Linked DNA regions of Homo sapiens: region 2 is linked to region 1. Evidence: promoter capture Hi-C in human tissues and cell types (Jung and others, 2019). All regions are on one chromosome and are shown on one strand. The core of a region is centred on a gene start or on the middle of the fragment in contact, and the rest is flanking DNA. Distances in the headings are between cores, read along the strand shown.

Region 1 (4,124 bases), core at 1,129-3,628:
TTCAGATGAGAGGTTCTAGAGGTGGGAGCCCCATTTCCCAACCCTTCTGTTTTTTCATTCAAGGCAGCAGCCTCAGAGTAGATCAGCGGGGCCAGCCTCGTGGCCCTCTGACATTCTCCCCCTGTGGCTTCCAAAAAAGATCTGGACTGACCTTCCCACCCCTGGAGCTGAGCTTGAGAAGTCAGCTTGCCTGGAATTGAATTTTTTCAGTAGTAAAAAAGGTGGAGAGCAAGTAGTAAGTATCCCAAAGAACTCAACATCTTGCAGCAAGGGGAGACAGGAGAGTGGGTGGGGGCAACCAGGCTGAGGCTAACAGCAGACTTCTGTACCGGCAGACTTCGCTGACATTGTTGTCCACCCTGTGACTGGTAGGGACTCCCTGCTTCTAGGGGCAGAGGCCTTAAGAAAGGAAAAGAAAGTCAGAACCATTCTTGCAAGAAGGGGAGAAACCAGGGCCCTCAGGAGGCCACAGCCAAGACTATCTCCAGAGCCATCAGCAATCTCTCTGACCTGCCAAAAGCTCCTCCCCGCTTCCCTGGTTAATAGGATGAGATCACCAGGCAAAAGAATATGATGAAGCATTTCACTTATATAGTATTTTTCTTTCCAAACACTTAATAAGCCTCTCTGGTCTCGCTGATCTTGCATTCTTCCCGTGAAAGGGGCCAGGGATCCATGCTTGGCATTTCAGAGTTTGCGCGGCTTGAGAGATCATCTAGTCTGCTTCCCTCACTTTTAGAGTTATGGGAACTGAAGTCCAGGGAAGTGAAATCGCTTGCTGGGATCACAGGGATGCCTCTCCCTCCTCCCAGCCCCGTACACTTTCTGCTAGGCTTATGCTGCTGTTCCGTCCATTTTGCACAAGAGAGGGGGTTCCAGAGTGGGGGAATAGAGTTGGAATTAGAAATTAGTTTTGTGTCACTGGCTTACAGGTGCTCTTAAACCTTAACAGGTTTAACATCCTCTGTAAAATGGGACTAGTGTCACCTCAACACCTACCTTGCAAAGTTGATTATTGGGAATCACACTTGTGTAAGCGGTATAGTCTTGGCAAACAGTAGGTGCTAAATAATGTCTGGCTGGAGGAATGGAGCCCTGTTCGCATATGGCATTCATCCAGCCAGTGTGTGGAGCTGGGGGAGGGATAGGCACGACTCCTGAAGCAGGAGGCCCAGTACGCGCCCAGGCTAGCCAGCCAGCCCTCCCCGGGGAATGCAACGTCCAGAACAGTCTATAGTCCCGATAGTATGCCTCATGCGTGAGACCTGACCAAGGACGTCTGTGAACAAACCCTTCACAGAGAGCTTAATGAGATTGTGGGAGTGCTGGTGGTTGGGTGTGGGGATACAGGCCATTGAAGGTGAGAGGGCCGGTGTGATCAGTTTGGTGGTCTGCCCAAGACAGAGACTCTGCGGGTTGGATAAGAGGGAGCTAATAGGTTTGAGGGGGTCACGTGTCCCTTGCCCTCCCTCCTATTCCCCCAGGACTCCCTCTTCACCCAGCCTCCTCCTAAGGGCAACTCTGTTGTATTAGGATGAACCACACGGTGTACTGAAATGAACCGCGCGTCAGAAAGCGGGGTTGCCTCCTGGGTCCTGCCACTTGCTCCCCGTGTGTTCTTGGCCTGGTCCCTTCACCTCTCCTAGCCTCAGGATCTTCATGCGTAACATGAGATCCTCCCAAGATGTTGGTATGTATACAACAGTGCTCTGGAATGACTCCATGCAAGCTGTTGCTCTTCAGTCTCCTGAACAAGGTGCTCTTGTCTCGTCCCATGAAACCTCCACCTCTCCATCTTCCGCACCACTGAGGCCGCAGTCTCTTCTAACGGGGCACGCTCGTCCCCCGCGCTGTTTCCCGAATGCCACCAGGGGGCGCCCCTTGCTCGCTGAAGCCGCCGGGCTAATAACTCCTCGGGGCCGGGGCGGGCTGCCCCTTTGCGCAGGGCGGTGGAGTGTGCGGGCTGCGCCGGGTTCCCCACCTGAGGTCCGTACCTCGCAGAGCCCGCTTGGCCGCGCGCCCCTAGCCTCTGCCGGGCGCCGCTCCCCAGCCGGGCGCCTCTCGCTCGGCCCCGGGCCCCCGGGCAGCCGCAAGTTTGCCCCCGGCCGCGCGGACCCGCGCCCGCCCTGCCCGCAGCAGCCCCCGCCGTTCCCGCCGCCCCCGCCGCCCCCGCGCCTGGGCTCCCGGGCGACGCTCCGAGGGGCGCTGGGGGGCGCGTGCAGCTGCCCGCGGGGCTCCGGCCCGGCCCCGAAGGGGCGCCCCCCCGGCCGGCCGTGCGCGGGGCCGCAGCAGTTCCCCAGCTGCCCGCCGGGCGGCGCCCCGCGCCTCGCTGCGCTCCTCCCGCGCTCCCCGCGCCGGGCTCGCTCGCAGCCGGACACAGACTGCCTTCAGCTGCGGGCGGATCGGGCTGGAGCCGCCACGGCTGCTGCGGAAGAGGAAAAACGGCCAACAGCAGCCCCGCGGCCGGCCCGGCAGCGCCCGGCCCCCGGCTCAGCCCCCGGAGTGCGGAGCCGACCAGGTAAGGGCAGCGGCCCCCCGCGGCGCCCCCGGCCCGCTCCCTGCGCTGCCCCCGCGCCCCCGAGTCCCCTCCGCGCTGGCCCTTCCCGCACCCCGACTTCTGACGTCTCCGCCGCTCCTGCCCTCGGGGGCCGCGGCCCCGCACCCCTGCCCCGGCCCCCGCCCCCGCGCCCTCCTCCCCGCTCCCGCCTCCCGCCAGCCCGGTCCCTGGCACTTCGGTCCCTGCGTCTCCAGATTCGCCGCCGAACCCCCCACCGCTCTGCTCCCGTAGTTCCTCCAGTCTTCACCCCGGTCCGTCTCCCTCCCTCCGCATCCCTTCCCCGGGCTCGCGGTCCTCCCGCTCTGGTCCTCCCCCTCCCCGTGCAACTCCCAGCCCTGCCTCTGTCCCCTGCAGGGATGACAGCCCCTTCCCAGCCTGGCGCGTCTCCCCTACACCTCGTCACCCTCCGCTTCTCCCAGCGCCTCTGTTCCCCGGCTGCAGCCCCCCATCCCGGCTCAGCCTGGCATCCCACCAAGCCCCCTCCCCCTTTCCTCACTGCCATCTGCCTCGACTGCCCCCTGCCCCTGCACTGGACTCGGGCCACCACCACACCCCCCCACCCTGCACACCGCCTTGCTTGGGGGAACCAGCGTCCTATCAGAAATGATCCTCTTTCCCGGGGAGAATGGGGCTCCCACCCATCCCACCCTAGTTCATCCGAGTGGGAAGTGAGGGAGAAACTCTAGAGACCTGCAATGGGCGCGTGATGGGGGAGGGGGCTGGGGCGGAGGGGGAGGGGAGCTGATTTAGATTCTCTTCAGTGAGGACTGGCAGAGCTGTGCGCTCCGACCTGGCTGGGGTGGAGGGCGTGCAGGCGACAGCTGGGACAGGGGGTTCAAGGCACTGAGAGCACCTGTGTCTCTTTCCCTGGCTCCCTTGAGCTGAGCAAAGTGAGGGGAGGAGTTGGAGCCTGGGGAGAGTTGGCTGAGGGCCTTGGGGTGGTGGAGGAGGCGGCCGAGGGGGCTGGGCCCCGGGCGCCTCTGGCCCGTCTGCCTGGCAGTGGTGGGGCAATGCGGGCCGAGCCACTCCCGGGCTGGACCTTGGGCTGCGTGGCTCTTGGCATCTGTACTTGATGCTGCCATCTTCCTCTTGGTGCTGTTGTCTGGTGATGCCACGCGGTGCCACCTCCCTGCCTCCCTCCAGTGGCTCTCCTGGGCATGTCTCCCAAGGGTCTGGGTTGTCTGGGAAGAGGAGGGGAGCTCTGAGCACAGCTGGGCCCTTTTGCCAGGCAGTGGGCAGCTGTCAAGACCAGGCCAAGAGGTCTGAGGGCTGGTCAGGAGGACTGAGCCCTGCCAGGAACAAAGAACTACCTTCACTTTCACTCCCTATGGGTCACCTGGTTGGTAGTGACACTTCTAGGAGCACCGGGAAACTGCGGGCGTGGTATCTCCGGGGAGAGAGGCCGCCTGGGTTGGTAGTGGGCATCTGAGAGACAAATCCGGTCCTGCCTGACTCCCTGACTGTCTGTGCTCGCGTGGTCAGGGGCGAGGGGCTTGTCGAGGTCCACTGTGTTCCGGTCCCACCAGGGATGGCAGCCCCTGGAATTCCACTGGGCGTCATCATGCTG
Region 2 (4,124 bases), core at 944-3,443, 34 kb after region 1:
GGAGGCTGAGGCAGGAGAATTACTTGAACCCGGGAGGCGGATGTTGCAGTGAGCTGAGATCACGCCACTGCACTCCAGCCTAGGTGACAGAGTGAGACTCCATCTCAAAAGAAAAGAGAATGTATGTTCCTCAAAAAATTAAAAATAGAACTACCATACAAGCCAGTAATCCCACTTCTGGGTATTTATCCAAAGGGATTGAAATCAGGATCTTGAAGAGATATCTACATTCCCATGTGCATTGCAGCACTAGTCACAATAGCCAAGAGAGTGTTCCTCTTGGAAGAATGGAATCCAGAATATGTGGTCCACACATACAGTGAATATTATTCAGCCTTAATAAAGAAGAAGATCCTACCTTTGCAAAAACGTGGATGAACCTGGAGGACAGTGTGCTAAGTGAAATAAGCCAGGTACAGAAAGACAAATATTGTATGATCTCACTTACATGTGGAATCTAAAATAGCTCACAGAAGCAGAGGGTAGAATGATGGTTGTCAGGGGCTGGTGGGGAGGGGAAATGAGTTGTTGGTCAGAGGGCACAAAGCTTCAGCTATGCAAGGCGAGTCAGTTCTGGCGAGCTGCGCTGCATAGTGCCCATAGCTAACAATACTGTGTTCTATACTTAGAATTTGCAGAGAGGATGGATCTGATAGTAAGCGTTCTTACCATAGACATATGAAAATAGTTATAAAGAGGGTGAGAGAAACTGTGGGAGCTGATGGATGTGTCTGTGGCCTTGGTGGTGATAGTAGTTTCACCAGTGTATACTTGTCCCCAAACTCATCAAGTTGTATACATTAAATATGTATGGTCTTTTACATGTCAATCATACCTTAACAAAGTGGTTAAATAATACTATTTTTATACTTTTTTTTTTGAGATGGAGTCTTGCTCTGTCACCCAGGCTAGAGTGCAGTGGCATGATCTTGGCTCACTGCATCCTCTGCCTCCAGGGTTCAAGCGATTCTCTAGTCTCAGCCTCCTGAGTAGCTGGGATTACAGGCATGTGCCACCACATCTGGCTAATTTTTCTACTTTTAGTAGAGCCGGGGTTTCACCATGTTGGCCAGGCTGGTCTTGAGCTCCTGACCTCAGGTGATCCACCTGCCTCGGCCTCCCAAAGTGCTGGGATTACAGGCTAAAGAGTACTATTTGTTTTCAACCTGGACATTTCAGCACAGCTGTTATTAGGAAGTTGTGTCCCTCCACCCCCTACCTTGTGATGTTTCCTAGGGTTGAGTTACCACGGGGACATGGAAAGGAGGTGTCTTGTGGGTCATCAGAGCTCTGGTCCTAATGTACATGTGAGAGGTTAAGGCTGGATAAGGAGGGTTAGAAAGAATCAACAGAGATTCTTCAGTGGATTCATTGAAGCCATATTTGTCCTTTTCCACTAAGGGACCATAAGATGAAACTGAAGACCTAGGGGCAAGGGGACCTGAGGCTTGTTGAGCACAGCCCGGACTCCCAGGGTGCGCTCAGTGTGGTCCACTGTCACAACAACCGTGTGCTGCAGGGTTCCCGCTTTCTCTAATTTGTGAATGGGGAAACTGAGGCAGGGAGCTTACGCAGCTGACTGAAGGCCTCACAGCTGGCCAGAGGCCAGCTGTGAACAAACCAGGGGACATACAGGCCTGGCCCGCGGGGTCACTGGCCGGTTTCCTGTGGCTCTCTGCAGGGTTCCCACTGTTCAGCCACAGCTTTGAGCCCTTTTGTGCATCTCTTACTACACGTCCTTATGTAGTCAAACCAGAAATGGAGCTCTTTCCCTCAAAACTGCCTTATCTCTAGTCGTTAAGGGTGTTCATTTGGCTGAAACTATATTAAGTGAATTTAATTGAAGGTTATTTTCCTAAGATACATTTTTTTCTTGTTATAAAGTGATATGTGCTCATTGAAGAGAGTTTAAAAAATACAGTGAGGCAAATGTAAGAGGGTGGAAATTGCCAACAATCCTACCATGTAGCCCACTATCAATAACAATAGTAACTGGCATGGAATGAGTAATTGCCGTATTGTAGTAAGCACTATTCGAGGTGTTTTGACGTACGATTATTATTAACCATTCTTTTGTGTATGAGGAAAACAGACTCAGGGACGTTAAGTAACTTGGCAGAGGTCACACAGCGAAGAAGTGATGAGATTTTAATATGCACCATTTGACTCTAGGGCCCAGGCTCTTAACTACCTCTGTCTTGTGTGAAACAACAGTGGCAATGGATTTTGAATGAAAGGGAGGAGAACTGTTGATTGAGTTTCACCTGCCCTGGAATCCAGAAATCTTGATTATAATGGTCAGGTAGGGAGCACCAGTTTTAGGGATCTTTGGATAACAACACCTAGACGTTCTTTAACTCAGGCTTGATAAAGACTGAGAAGGAGTTACTGAGAACTGCGGAGGCCTGTGCTGTGCACTGAGTGCTTTCCTGCATGTTTTCAGACAGAGCCAAGGGTGGCACCCAGGCTCCACCCTTCCTGCTCTGACCAGATGGCTTCACATCTCTCCTGACTTCTGCTTTGTGGGTTGGTGCCCCTCGGTGTGGCTGGGTACCCTCGGTTTCTCCCCTTCGTGTCTCTGTGGCCCATGACCAAAGAATCCGTGGTCTTTGTGGGTGGGTCAGGTGTTGGCCCTGAGGTACAGCCGTTCTCTGTAGGGCTGCATCCTCCAAGGGGGAACCCCTGTGTGGAGGAGACAGGAGATTTTAGCAGCAGGGACCCTCCTTGCAAACCAGCCCTTGCAGCGTTGGTGCTGCTGTTCCTGTTGAATTGGTTCGCCCCCAGTTGCTGTGGGTTTGCTCCTGCAGTCTCCCTTGCAGTCCTGGGTTAGTTCTCAGGACTGCACCTTGAGGGAGATGGGCCAAAATGAGATCTGGTCCGGAAAAGTGGTCAGGGGCATTTTTCAGTTGGGAAAGATTCTCTCTGGAATGGCAAAGGACTTCTCAAGGGACCGCGCCTGCCTGTGTCCTTCTAGGTGGTGGAGACTGCACCTGCTGGGCTAGGGCGACATGGTTTCTGTGCCTGCCCCTGCAACAGCCTGATTCTTTCTCCCTAGAGATCCACCTAGAGGAAGGGGGATGCAGTCCGCATGGGAGTCCAGCACTGTGAGAGGGCTGCTCATAGCATATCCCCATGGGAGTCTTGCCCCACAGAGTGTGTCCAAGGTGAAGGATGGAGTCTAGGGAACGTGCAGTATGTGGAGAGGACCTGGGACATGCTTCTGGCTCAGCTCCCTCATTAGCCTTGAGTTATTTAGTATGTCACTCCCGTTCCTGAGTCACACATGCTCCGCCCACCTCCTGAAGTCCCCTCCCACTGTGTGGCTACTAGGAGTAAGGATGGAATTTGTGGGGAACTTCAGGCCCAGAACTGGGCATGAAATGGAAATGCAAGATGATGATTCATAATTTTGCTAGAGAAACCAAATACGGCTTTGCTTCCTCTCTAATCCCAACAGGTTCTGGGGCTGAGCGCAGCTTAAGAACAGCAAGGTCGGGGGGTTGGCATTGCCTGACTGTCCAGCTTAAGCCTCGTGCATGCAGAGCTCCACGTACCTCCCCGGCACCCTGCCCCTTGGGCTCTGGCAGCGCTTCCTCCACATTCTCCTGTCTTGTGTGCCTCAGTTCCTTTGCGTGGACAGTCCCTTCGACTTGAAGTCCCCTTCCCTCTCTTCCCTCCACTCATCCTCAGGAGCCAGCTCAGTGGCCATTCCTTCCACAGTGCCTCTCCTGGGAGCCTGTCCTGGACACACTCACCCTTCTCTCTGCCTCCAGGGTACCCTGGGCACTCCTCTATCGTGGCTCTTGGCATCTTAGATTTTGAGCTCCCAAAGGCCAGAGACCTTGCCTTGGGCATCTGTGGATGTCTCGCCCCTAGCACGCAGTGACCTCAGCCAGTGGGCGAGTGTCTGCACGAGCGGAGTACAGAGGGATGAGTGAATAGCGTGGTGAGATGGAGCTGGGCTCCTTTAGACTCTGGTCGGCGGTGACCACATGCTCACACAGGCATAAAATCTCACCGACACCTTCAAGGCAGCAGTCAGATAAGGGGAGGGAGGAAGGTGTTTGAGGGGTTGGCACCAGAGGAGCCAAGCAGGGAAGGCTTCTTGTTTCCAGACATTCAGG

The links. The method cuts DNA at HindIII sites, captures the fragments that hold promoters and counts their contacts. A contact is called where the count stands out against the background at its distance.
Region 2: a fragment that was not itself captured here is called in contact with the fragment with the promoter of GRIK4 in region 1 in 1 of the 25 tissues and cell types used here (dorsolateral prefrontal cortex).

What each region holds. Positions count from the first base shown.
Region 1 is chr11:120,509,370-120,513,493 of GRCh38, forward strand. It overlaps GRIK4 (glutamate ionotropic receptor kainate type subunit 4), which reads left to right and starts at 2,379. Exons shown (of 21, transcript NM_014619.5): 1 at 2,379-2,518. RefSeq lists silencers at 1,990-2,069, 2,250-2,449. The HindIII fragment of the contact is 7,551 bases long and covers 1-4,124 here.
Region 2 is chr11:120,543,469-120,547,592 of GRCh38, forward strand. All of the region lies in intron 1 of GRIK4 (glutamate ionotropic receptor kainate type subunit 4), which reads left to right. Among named protein-coding and RNA genes, the nearest start is that of GRIK4, 34 kb to the left of the region's middle. The HindIII fragment of the contact is 8,132 bases long and covers 1-4,124 here.